2 separate regions of the Homo sapiens genome follow, and region 2 is linked to region 1. The links are contacts of gene promoters, found by promoter capture Hi-C in blood cells and fetal thymus (Javierre and others, 2016). All regions are on one chromosome and are shown on one strand. Each heading gives the region's core, a stretch centred on a gene start or on the middle of the fragment in contact. The rest is flanking DNA. Distances are from core to core; before and after follow the strand shown.

Region 1 (6,620 bases), core at 1,790-4,289:
TAAAAGGCAGTTGGAGGACTAACAAGCTTCCACTGCACTGTGAGCCAAGGATTTGGCAAAAAGCACAAAATAAAACACATGGATATGTTGTCTACACTCCAAGCCAGTCATATTCATTTCATACTATATCCTATTGACGTCTAGAATCCAGTTGGACTTTCTAGGGATTATTATCTTTGAATCTGTGTCATTAGCTATAAATCTTAACACCATATAAAAGGCTATGCCTAGAAGGAATAGGCCCTATTAATCAGAATTCCTCCCTTGCATAAACATTGGCGCTAGAGTCCATAAGAAATTAAAGTCAAAAGAGGGAATATGGAGCGGGGCCGGGGCTGGGCGTGGTGGCTCACGCCTGTTATCCCAGCACTTTGGGAGGCCAAGGTAAGCAGATCACCTGAGGTCAGGAGATCGAAGCCAGACTGCCCAACATGGCAAAAACCTGTCTCTACTAAAAATACAAAAATTCGGCCGGGCACGGTGACTCACGCCTGTAATCCCAGCACTTCGGGAGGCGGAGGCGGGCAGATCATGAGGTCAGGAGATGGAGACCATCCTGGCTAACACGGTGAAACCCCGTCTCTACTAAAACAATACAAAAAAAAAAATTAGCTGGGCGTAGTGGCGGGTACCTGTAGTCCCAGCTACTTGGGAGGCTGAGGCAGGAGAATGGCGTGAACTCAGGAGGCGGAGCTTGCAGTGAGCCGAGATCGCGCCACTGCACTCCAGCCTGGGCGAGAGTGCGAGACTCCATCTCAAAAAAAAAAAAAAAAAAAAAATTACCCGGACGTGGTGGTAGGCGCCTGTAATCCCAGCTACTCGGGAGGCTGAGGCAGGAGAATCAATTGAACCCGGGAGGCAGAGGTTGCAGTGAGCCAAGATCACAACATTGCACTCCAGCCTGGGCAACAAGAGCGAAACCCTGTCTCGAAAGGAAAAAAAAAAAAAAAAAAAAAAGGAAGGGGGGTCGGGAATCAAAACGTCCTAATTCTAAAATGTGAATAAAACCTCGAGAAAATAGTTACTGTCTTAACACAGACCTATTGCAGTAACATTTGAATCTCAGTTATTCAGTGCACTCCTTTGTTTCAGTTGCAGAAACCAAATAAAGATTAATCAGACTACATGGTAAGAAAAGTAATTCTCAGAAGATCAACTACTTTTAGGTGAATTACCTCCCAAGAAGATGTTCTTTTTGACTGGATTTTTTTTCCTGGTATCAGGCATTCTATAAGAAGTATTCTATTGGCTGGAGTTCTATACACCATCTGTCCTATATGCAGATTTTTACATTTTATATACTATAAAATAAAATAATTCAAAAGGCTTTTAAAAAACAAACAAACAAAAAAACAGAGGTCCTAAGGATTTAAAAATGTCTTACCTCTTTGGGGAAAAACGGTCCAAGTATAGAATAGCACATCATGGAACCTAAGTTCACCGAAGCTGCCGATATCAGTACAAAAACCTGTTCTCTCGAAAGCCACCCGGGGGTCTCTCCTGCACTTCCTGCAGGATCATCACCTTGAATGCAAACATGCAGCAATTAGGCATATAATTGAGACTACTGATTAAAGTACACAAATGTGATTTCTGTGCACATATGTTGCACTCTGAAGATATCATTTGCTAAGCTTAGGGCTATTTTGAATATAGCACATTTGATCAAATGGAACACAATCCTTGTACATTACTGCCGTTTTGAAAACGTACTGCTTTCGGCTGGGCACGGTGGCTCACGCCTGTAATCCCAGAACTTTGGGAGGCCGAGGCAGGCGGATCACGAGGTCAGGAGATCGAGACCATCCTGGCTAACACGGTGAAACCCCGTCTCTACTAAAAATACAAAAAATTAGCCGGGCGTGGTGGCGGGCCCCTGTATCCCAGCTACTCGGGAGGCTGAGGCAGGAGAATGGCGTGAACCCGGGAGGCGGAGCTTGCAGTGAGCCAAGATCGCACCACTGCACTCCAGCCTGGGCTACAGAGAGAGACTCCGTCTCAAAAAAGCAAAACAAAACAAACAAACAAAAACAAAAACAAAAACAAAAAACAAAGATTTCTAAGGCAGTATTGAAGTCAAATGAAGTGTAAGTAGGAGAAAACAAGCTAAATCATTCAGCTGGTGAATTAATATTTACAGCGGTATGCTTCTGGATAGACAAGTCCCACAAATTCATAAATAAATACTTTTTTTTTACCCTAATTACTGGTCTTTTACATCAGTTAATTTAACACTTATTTCCAGGGCTAAATTGTCATTTAAAAACACGAAATCAATTACTGAGTTCCAAATATCCAAGCAAATCCATCAGCCATTTATAAATTAAATTGTTTTTAGGAAAAACTTAAGAGAAATACATTTGCTTTGCTCTATTTGTCAGAGGTTGCCATTGCAGTCCAGAAGGAAAAAAAAAATCAGTGCAACATGAGGAAGTCTTACGAATCTTTGTAAAATGTTTGTAGTAGATGAGAAAGGGAAATGAAAGTTAAAAAGAAAGGCAACAACAATGGGTACTTGAAAGGTAACGTTTTACATTTGCCTAATGGCATACTTATTTGAATGCATTAAACACACAGTACTTAAAAAGCAGAGGTATAGGTTAGAAAGTCATTAGAAACCGTGACACATATCCAATCCTGGAACTTTACCCCGTCCAGAGAGAAAAGAAACGCTGGCCCGAACCCCACGATCAGGCCCCAGCCTTTTCCAATCTCTCGGAAACAGATCAAGCTATAAGCAATTCAATCGTTGCTAAAGAGACACGCCGGAAGCCGCCGCTGGTCTCCGGGCTCCCGGCCACGCAATTCATGGTCACCTCCTGGTGCGCGTGGTCCCTCCAGGTCACCCAGCGCCTCCATCCCCGGTGCGTGGACTCCGGCGCCCCAGCTCCCGGCTTCAAGCCACGTCCTTGGACTCGACCTCCAAGGAGCCACTGGCACTCTGGCGGGCGGCCGCTGCTCAGCTGGAACCTGGCATCCCCGACTCCCTGCAGGCAGCGATCCGCCCGGCCCGGAGCTCCCCAAAGCCTTCCAGGACTCTGGGTCCCCGGGAGGAGGCCGGGGGCGGGGCAGGGGTGGAGCAAGGCTCCTTTTTTTTTTGTTTTGCGCCCCCCCCCCGCCTCATTATCTTAATCCACCACCTCAGCTGCTATATCATGGTGTCCTTTTTCATTCTGTGACAGAGAGTGAAAAAAGATGAGTCTATATTCCATACAGCTGTACCCCCCTCAATCTTAAAATAAGTTCAATTTATTCCTACGAAACGAAAGAAAGGAAGCTTATGTAGACACAGAAAAGGCAGGGAGTACCTCAACTGAAAGACACAAAAGTGAATTAGAAAATTAGGTTATACAGGAACTTTGAAAGAGTGAATTATTTTTCACAGTGGGTAAATGCGGTAGTGTTCGTAATTACTGAAGCCAGACACTATTGAACCGGAAATGAATTAACCTATGTGAAGCACCTGGAGTCGAAAAATATTTGCAAGAATACTAATGAATATCGAGGAAGCATGGCGAAGTGGCTAGGAGTGCGACCTCTGGAGGCAGGTGCCAGGGATTCAAGCCAGGGCACTTGCTGGCAGTGTGTAACTTTGGATGACAAGGTCAGTTTCTCTACCTGTACAACTGAGATTATAATGTTTATCTCGTAGGGCGGCTGTGAGCATTGGCGATAAAGTGTGTTAGTAGTTAGCACATGAACATGATGGCTGCTACCTTACTCTCACACTCACAGTTTTCTTGCATAAAAAATAGGTTTCACTTATTTTCACCGTATTTACTATTTGGGAAGTGTTAAAGCTCGAGGACTGGCTGGACACGGTGGCTCATGCCTGTAATCCCAGCAGTTTGGGAGGCCGAGGTGGGCAGCTCACCTGAGGTCAGGAGTTCTAGACCAGCCCGGCCAACATGGTGAAACCCTGTCTCTACTATAAAAATACAAAAAAATCAGCCAGGCGTGGTGGCAGGCACCTGTAATCCCAGCTACTAGGGAGGCTGAGGCAGGAGAATCGTTTGAACCTGGGAGGCGGAGGTTACAGTGAGCCAAGATCCAAAAGAATTGTGTGAGGGTAGCTTTATCGACTGAGAATCTGCCTCAGATCCACTGTACAAGGTCAGTTCCAGTACACAGTATGGCTGATAGTAAGTTTGTAATTACTGTGCCACCTCATTCCAGCCTGGGTGAAAAAGCGAAACTCTGTCTCAAATAAATAAATAAAGTTTAAGGACTGGGAAATTCTTGTTTTGAAGCCAAAGCAAAACAAAAGACTGAGTTACCACTTTGTGCCAGGCATTATGAATTTAAAGAGGAATGAGCCCCATCCAGACTCTGCCCTCAAGTAGCACACCTTCTAGCAGATGAAATTCACACTAATTAATAATCTACTATAATGCAATCGGTTGTATACAAACATATTGGAAGAACCATTTACTTTGGCAAATGGGTCCTGGATGACTTCCTGAGGAAGTGATGTTACCTTGGTTCTTGAAGGTTATGTAAAAACTCCCCAGTGAGGGCCGGGCGCGGTGGCTCACGCCTGTAATCCCAGCACTTTGGGAGGCCGAGGTGGGCGGGTCACGAGGTCAGAAGTTCGAGACCTGCCTGACCAACACGGTGAAACCCCGTCTCTACAAAAATACAAAAATTAGCTGGGCATGATGGCACCCAGCTACTCAGGAGACTGAGGCAGGAGAATCGCTTGAACCTGGGACTCGGAGGTTGCAGTGAGCAGAGATCATGCCATTGCACTCCAGCCTGGGCAACCGAGCGAGACTCCATCTCAAAAAAAAAAAAAAAAAAATTCCCCAGTGGGCAAGTTGTAAAGGAGAACCTAGAGAACCACTCTGAACAGAAAGTTCCACTCTAAGCCAGGTGCTGTGGCTCACGCCTGTAATCCTAGCACTTTGGGAGGCCGAGGCAGGCAAATCACCTGAGGTCGAGAGTTTGAGACCAGGCTGACCAACATGGAGAAACCCTGTCTCTACTAAAAATACAAAATTAGCTGGGCATGGTGGCGCATGCCTGTAGTCCCAGCTACTCGGGAAGCTGAGGCAGGAGAATCGCTTGAACCTAGGAGGCAGAGGTTGTGGTGAGCCAAGACAGCACCATTGTGCTCCAGCCTGGGCAACAAGAGTGAAACTCCATCTCAAAAAAAAAAAAAAAAAAAAAAAAAGAAAAGAAAAGAAAGTTCCAATCTAGCAAAGTTTCCCTAAAGTAGCCTTATGAAATCTTTATGATCTAACCCCTGACAGCTTCTCCAATCTCATTTAACTCTATGCTTTCTCTTCAATCTAACATCAATCTGTAGAGGGAAATTTTCTTGAATGATTTCTTTGATGATTACATTTCCTCTTTTATTTTCTTTCTGGACTGCACTTTATGTGAATGTTGGGTCACCCAAACTGGTCCTTTTACTTATTTCTCTTTTTCTTCTCTCTTTTATTTTATTTTATTTTTTTTAGACAGGGTCTCACTCTGTTTCCCAAGCTACCATGACATATAATGGCTCACTGCAACCTCAAATTCCTGAGCTCAACTGATCCTCCCACCTCAGCCTCCCGAGTAGGTGGGACTATAGGCCTGTGCCACCACACCTGGCTAGTTATTATTTTTTCTTTTTTTTTCCTCCATGTTATAGGAAGTATCCCTAACTGTATCTTGCCATCTGAATTTTTGCCAACTGAATCTTGCCAACTGTATCTTGCCAATTGAATGTTTCATTTCTGTTGCCATCTATTTCCTTGTATCTCCATTCTCATTCCTCTCCCCATTTGCAATAATTCTTGCATGTTTAATGCAAATCTTGTTCTTTATGTTCTCAAAAAAATCTATGTTCTTATGTGTCCATCTACTTTTAATTTACATAAAGTCTATTCATATCCCTATCCTCCGCTCCTCTTGTAATCTCTACCTCTCATTCTCCCTTCAGATAATCAGTTTTATAATCAAATATATTATTGTGTTAGTTTTCTGGGGCTGCTGTACAAATCAACACAAATTTGATAGCTTAAAACAAGGTCCTCAAAGCCAGAAGTTCAACATCAGTTTCACTGAGCCAAAATCAAGGTGTCAGCAGGATCATGTTCCCTCTAGAAGCTCTAGGGAAGAGTCTGTTTCTTGCCCCTTGAAGCTTCTAGTGACTATTGGCATTTTGTGCCACATCACTGTAGTCTCTGTTTCTGTGATCACTGTGCCTCTTCTTTTCTGTGTGTAATCTTCGTTTGCCAGTCTCTTGTAAGGATATTTTGAATGAATTTAGGGCCCACCTGGATAATCCAGGATGACCTCTTCATCTCAAGTTCTCCAATTTAGTCACATCTGCACAGACCCTTTTTTTCATATAAGGTAACATTTACAGGTTCCAGGGATTAGGATGTGGACGTATCTTTGGAATCCATTATCAGCCTACCACAATTATCTATTCATAGTTTGATATGCTCATTTAGACATTCATACACATATGGAATATTTGTTTCTTTACAAACTAAAATGGAGTAATATGGTCTTTGTTTAAATGCCACCTCCTCAGAGAAATTCATTCTTTTTTATTATTTATTTATTTAATAATAGAGATGAGGTTTCACCATGTTGCCCAGGCTGGTGTCAATCTCCTGGACTCA
Region 2 (6,620 bases), core at 1,541-4,040, 530 kb before region 1:
GCCAATAATGTGTAATATCTTAAGCCAATTGAATCATACTGAGTTCTCAGAAAAATAAATGAAACAAAATGGATTGTTTTAAAGGGAGTAAATCTTACCCCGTAAAAGACAGCTGCTTTTCAAATAACATCAATTGGATTTTTAATATAACCTATTAGGATTTTGTTTTCTTCCTTTTTTGGAGACTTTCTTAGTCAAATATAACAACCAGAATCTACAGCTTGGCTCACTTCTCTGTGAGCATTCTTATGTTCAATTCCCACTATTTTTAGCTTTATGCAGTTGTTCCAAGAACATACCTTTTCTCAGAAAGCAATATTTTCTCTACCTTCAAAGAGAAAATTTAGAAAACGTCAGAAAACACAGAGTCCCTAAAGTGGGATTTGGCCTGCTTTTTAGAACTTAAAAACAATTGGGTATTTTTAGTCCAGTCATTCTAAACCACAAAGGCAACAGCAGAATTTGTTGCTATAACTATATAACTTGACCAGTTGCAAACCGTCAAACATAGACCCCAATCCCATTTAAATGTTTATGTCCCTACTTAATTAACTTACTTTGTTTTGTAATTAGTTCCACATTTTCAGTCTCTTGCAGTTGAGACTGGGCTTGATCGCCTAAAAAATAGTAGCTCAGGCTGGGCGTTGTGGCTCACACCTGTAATCCGGGCACTTTGGGAAGCCGAGGTGGGCAGATCACTTGAGGTCAGGAATTCGAGACCAGCCTGGCCAACAAGGTGAAACCCTGTCTCTACCAAAAATATAAAAATTAGTCAAGCATGGTGGTATGCACCTGTAATCCCAGGTGCTCTGGAGGCTGAGGCTTGAGAATTGCTTGAACTTGGGAGGCAGAGGTTGCAGTGAGCTGAGACTGCACCACTGCACTCCTGCACTCCAGCTGGGGTGACGGAGTGAGACTCTGTTTCAAAAAAAAAAAGAAAGAAAAAAGAAAGAAGAAACAAAGAAAGAAAAAAGAAAATGGTAGCTCAAAACACTCAATTACTATTTTAAAAGCTTTTTCATTAAAAAATTAAGGTGCTCAGCAGCATTTATAACTAACTGGTATCTAATAGTAAGAGAAATTGGCATGAGATAATCTGGCCAATTAACAGTATGCAGTCACTGCATTTATGTTTTATTGTAGGGATGTGACGAGTTATAAATAAGTAAGAACAAGCAATGCTAGTATAAAGTACCTAGAAATACCTGACCTCTTTGAGGTCAGGAGTCAAGTGTTATTCACAGGGATGAAAATTATTACAAATGAAAGCTGACCATGGTGACTTCTACTGCCTAGGGATGGAATAGGTATTTGAATAATTAGTAGTGGAATAAAAAATCTTTATTCCATTCCCTTCCAGTCATAGAAGCTGTTGGAGAAAAGGAAAGGCTGAAATTACAAAGCCTCTGCTATAGGATAAGACCCAGAGCAGGTGATTCTTTTTTGAGAAAGAACAAATTAACAGGTCTTTTGGAGATGAAACGTAGGCTCAGAAGTGAGTGGATGGTGGAAAGGTAACTTGCAAGACACCATTAGGTCATGGGTTAGATAAATGGAGGAGATGGGTAAGCTAGGAAAGGCCTCGATAAAGGCGCAGGGACTGATTAACGTGACCGGACTTACCAGGGCAATGAAGAGACCCAAGAACAAGGATGGGCAATAATCAATTTTGAAATGTTTGCATTCTGTAGCTGTAAAAACCCACTGGGTTGCACCTAAACTTTGGTAAAAGTCTGAAATAAACACAGTGCCACCAGATGGTCTGGTGAACTCTTAATGATTCTCAAGCATTAGCTCAAATGTCTTCCCCTCTTTGTGACTTCATCTGATCCGCTCATCTCTCAGGAAGTCCATCAGAGAAAAGCCATCTCTTTTGGCTCAGTGCTCTCATAGTAAGTACTTCACACATAACTTGCAGAACTTACTTACCTGCATTATAGTATTGCTTTGAGAATCTGTCTCACCTGTTAAGACTATAAGCTATTTTTAGTTAGGAGCTTTTCTATGCATTTTTGTAACCCTCGAATCCTAGTACTCTGCCTGGCTGGCCCCTAATAAGCATTTAATAAATGTTGGTTGAAATCAGTCAAGGAAGCCTTCTAAGAATAAGTGAACTTTTTATAAAGAAAGAAAAGCTAAAAAGAAAAAGCTTCCATAACTTATTAATCAGATAGATATAGCAATAGATAGCTATAGATAGATAGCAGAAATAATTTCATTAAATTAGTAATTAGTGGGGACTTTTAATGTTTTGTAGGTTGTTAATCTGGACACATGGTACCTTGTACGTGAGTCTCTTGGTGGATCGTGTTGCTATTATTTGTTTTCAAAACTTCACTAGATTTGTAAACATCCTGATGCAAAACTATTTGGTATTCCTACATACATACCCAGTAGCTGCATAGGACGTGACATGCATAGTAAGGATGTAGAAAATATTTAGGGAAGGATACAGGAAAGGGAAGGAAGAAAAAGGAAAAGTTTTAGAAGAGTGAAAAAATTTAAAGGGTAAAATTTTGAGACTACGGTATAAAAATATTACAGAGGTGTTTTTTTTTTCCCCATCAGTTTGGGGGTGTCTGGGCCAAAATAAGGCACTCAGACATGCAAGAGTTTCCATCTTGACAGTGATGGATCCAAAAGGGAACCTGATCCTTTGTCTCCTCCTTGTTCCTCAGGTGCCACATATGCATCTGACTAATGTCAAAACAGAAGGCTGGACTCCTTATATAAAAATGTGCTGGCAAGCACTCCTGTGACCTTTAAAATCAATCATTGCAAATGGGTATTCAAGCAAGAGGAAATGATCTACAGCTGGGCGGTTTCTCGTCTACATCAGCTGGCAAAGAGGCAGACATACAATTACAAGCAGCATGATTTTTGTTTTCAGACTCCCTGCCCAAACCTTCCAGTATTTTCCATAGCTTTACTGCAAAAAATAACACTAGCCTCAAGTTTAACAGGATGTGAAAACTCCTTCCATGTCTTGAGACAATTTCCCTCCTATGCTGTTGCTCAGCTGGTTGGTCTCTTCTTACTCAGCCCAGTGTGATTTGCGTAAATTGCTTTAACAGCCAGATATTAAGAGCAAACATTGGCCTTTCTTATTCCTGTGTTCCTGAGTTTTCTCTTTATCCAAGTGCACCTGGCAATTCACCCAAATCACGAGGTATTGCCTAGGTTGTATTTATAAGCTCAGTGTGGGTAAACACAGCTGATCACTGGCCACTAGTTTTCCTTCCTTGCTGGGTCCTTTCCTTTCCCTTTTCAAGGCTGGCTTCCAACTTCCTACCTTTTGTGGCTCCTTCTGGAAGACCATGTGGAGTGGGATGTCAGGCAGCAAATGCAGGACCTCTCCAGATCTTGAAAAACAAACAGAAAAGATGGTTTCTAGAATAATATTGCTCCTTATTTCTCCAAGCTCCTGCTTGTGAAGCTTATCCTTTTTTGTTTCTGAATAGTTGATAGAAATGGACAGTTTCTGTTTTTCCTCTAATGAGGACACACACATGCATGCACAGTCTCACACACACACACCTTCCTGCAGAAAACATATTTTGTTTCTTTGTTTCTTCTTGGAATAGAAAAGAGGAGGTGGGAAGAGGAAGTTGTTTTGTTTTATAGCACATGTTGTTTTAAGGTTAAAAAAAACCCTGATGTATTGGCTTTCAAAAATGTATATTTTTTCATACCAAAAGTATTAGATTGCACATTTAATTGGTGAATCATATGATATATGAATTATATCTCAATAAAGCTATTTTAAAAATCATACTATATCAGAATATTAGATGTAAGTCATTTTTTTCTAAAAGATAAATTTCAAGTACAAGTAAAATAGGTCAGAAAAGACGCTGCTTTCCAAAGCAATGTTAAGCTTTTCCTTGGCTACAGGAACACAGATGTTGTGAAATCCACCCCTAAAAGCCAAAATGGGAAAGGAAAAGACTCACATCAATATTGTCATCATTGGGCTGGTAGATTTGGGCAAGTCCACCCCTACTGATCTAAACATGTGGTGGGACTGACAAGAGACCCTCTGCAAAATGTGATAAGAAGTCTGCTGAGATGGGAAAGGGCTCCTTCAAGTATGCCTGGGCCTTGTATAAGCAGAAAGCTGAGTGTGAACGTGGTGTCACAATTGATACTTCTCTGTGGAAATTTGAGACCAGCAAGTGCTATGTGACCATCACAAGACTTTATCAAAAACATTATTACAGGCACATCCCAGGTAGAATGCGCTGCCTTGATTGTCGCTGTTGACATTGGTGAATTTGAAGTTGGTATCTCTGAGAATGGGCAGACCCCTGAGCACACCCTTCTGGCTTGCATGCCAGATGTGTAACAAGTAATTGTTGTTGTTTACAAAATGGATTTCACTGAGCCACCCTATAGCAGAAGAGACATGAAGAAATTGCTAAGGAAGTCAGCACTTACATTAAGAAAATGGGCCACAGCCCTTACACTGAGGCATTTGTGCCAATTTCTGGTTGGGATGGTAGCAACATGCTGGAGCCATGTGATCACAGGCCTTGGTTTAAGGGATAGAAAGTTTAGGGTAAAGATGGCAATGCCTATGGAACCATGCTGCTTGAAGCTCTGGACTCCTTCCTACCACCAACTCATCCAATTGACAAGCCCTTGCGTCTGCCCCTCCAGGATGTCTACAAAATTTGGGATATTGGCACTATCCCTGTGGGCCAAGTGGACACTGGTGTTCTCAAACCAGTAGCGTAAACACTCTGCTCCAGTCAACATCACAACTGAAGTAATGTCCGTTAAAATGCACCATGAAGCTTTGAGTGGGCTCCTCCTGGAGACAATGTGGGCTTTAATGTCAAGAATGTGTCTGGCAAAGCTGTTCGTCGTGGCAACATCACTGATGAAAGCAAAACCACCCACCTGTGGAAGCAGCAGGCTTCACTGCTCCGGTGATTATCCTGCATCCTCCAGGGTGAATCACGCTGGCTGTGTATGCCCCTGTACTGGATTGTCACACGGCGCACATTGCTTGCAAGTTTGCTGAGCTGAAGGAAAAGGTTGACTGATGTTCTTGTAAGAAACTGGAAGATGGTTCTTAAATTCTCGAAATTGGGTGAAAACTATCGTTGATATGGTTCCTATCAAGCCTAGGTGTGTTGAGAGCTTCTCTGACTATGCTCCTCCAGGTCATTTTGCTGTTCATGATATGAGATAGACAGCTGCTGAAGTGTCATTAGAGCAGTGGCTGCTGGAGCTGGCAAAGTCACTGAGTCTGCCTGGGAAGTTCAGAAGGCTAAATGAACAGTATCTCTAATACTTTTCACCCTAGTCTTTTTTTTTTTTTTTTGAGATGGCGTCTTGCTCTGTCACCGAGGCTGGAGTGCAGTGGCACCATCACGGCTCACTGCAGCCTCAACCTCCTGGGCTCAGGCGATCCTCCCATCTCAGCCTCCCAAACAGCTGGGACCACAAACCTGTGCCATCACACCAAGCTAATTTTTTTTTTTTTTTGGTAGAGATGAGGTCTTGCTGTGTTGCCCAGGATGGTCTCAAACTCCTGAGCTCAAGTGATCCTCTCACGTCAGCACCCTAGTCTTAATCAATGGTGGAAGAACCATCTCAGAACTGTTTGTTTCAATTAGCCACTTAAGTTTAACAGTAAAAGACTGGTTAATAAACAATGCATCATAAAACCTCAGAAGGAAAGAATGTTTTGTAGACCATTTTGTTTTTGTTTTCATGTGGCAATTTTATTAGTTCTTAAAATCATTACTTTTTAACGGAAACACCTTGACTAAAAATCTATCACAGAATTTTGAGACCTATTAAAACAAAGTTTAATGAGACAAAAAAGGTAGAGCAGAATAATCAACTTAGAATGTAACATTTTGTCACCAGCTGATGATAAGTAACTACATCACTGAAGAAGTTTACATCATATTCAGTAGTGAATCTAATATTATAGATGGAATACTACCAATAAAAATATTTTTGTTTTGAAAAATCTGTCAACTATAATACATATAATGGCCATTGTACATCCATCTGCAATTAAAATATGTTCATGTAAATGCTTTTGAATAAAATTTATATGGCATCACTTCCTAAAAAGCTTTTTCAGTACTCTGTTTTCCTCTTAATACATCATATGGGAGTAAATTTCAAAATCTCTTAATCTTTGTCCTGTTCTGTTTATGTTTCTCCTTACAAATTTGGGGTGACCTCAAAGTCTTCCTAAGCATTAGGAAAGGCTTCTTTTCAACAGGATGGTTTAAAATTAAGTTTGCTAAATAACATGATTGCCATCACACCATTGGCACCAACACCCATAGCAGACATCGCTAATTAAAGAACTAATTTCTCCTGAAGAGTATAGATTAGACTCAGCTGTGGAGCTCCAGCCAGCTAGGAAAACCTATCTCTTGAACTGGTTATACAGCTGAAGGAAGTCAGTTCAGTTGTCCAAAGTCCCTCTCACTGTTTTATAATGGTGGTCTCTATTCTACCACAATCACTGTGAGGGTTTGTAATGCCCAGTTTGAGAAACGTGGTCATGACGTGATTTACTCCTGCTCTTCCATAGTTCTGTAAGAAAAGGAAAAAGTTTTTACCTCTCCAATTTTATAAGCCAGGGAATT

The links. The method cuts DNA at HindIII sites, captures the fragments that hold promoters and counts their contacts. A CHiCAGO score of 5 or more calls a contact.
Region 2: a contact is called between a fragment that was not itself captured here and the fragment with the promoter of SLC18B1 in region 1, in 1 of 17 cell types (total B cells). The highest score is 6.6, in total B cells.

What each region holds. Positions count from the first base shown.
Region 1 is chr6:132,795,598-132,802,217 of GRCh38, forward strand. It overlaps SLC18B1 (solute carrier family 18 member B1), which reads right to left and starts at 3,040. Exons shown (of 14, transcript NM_052831.3): 1 at 2,817-3,040; 2 at 1,385-1,524. The coding sequence starts at 2,859. RefSeq lists an enhancer at 1,326-1,826 and a silencer at 3,058-3,107. The HindIII fragment of the contact is 1,643 bases long and covers 1,633-3,275 here.
Region 2 is chr6:132,268,050-132,274,669 of GRCh38, forward strand. It overlaps the pseudogene EEF1A1P36. Among named protein-coding and RNA genes, the nearest start is that of MOXD1, 130 kb to the right of the region's middle. The HindIII fragment of the contact is 1,287 bases long and covers 2,148-3,434 here.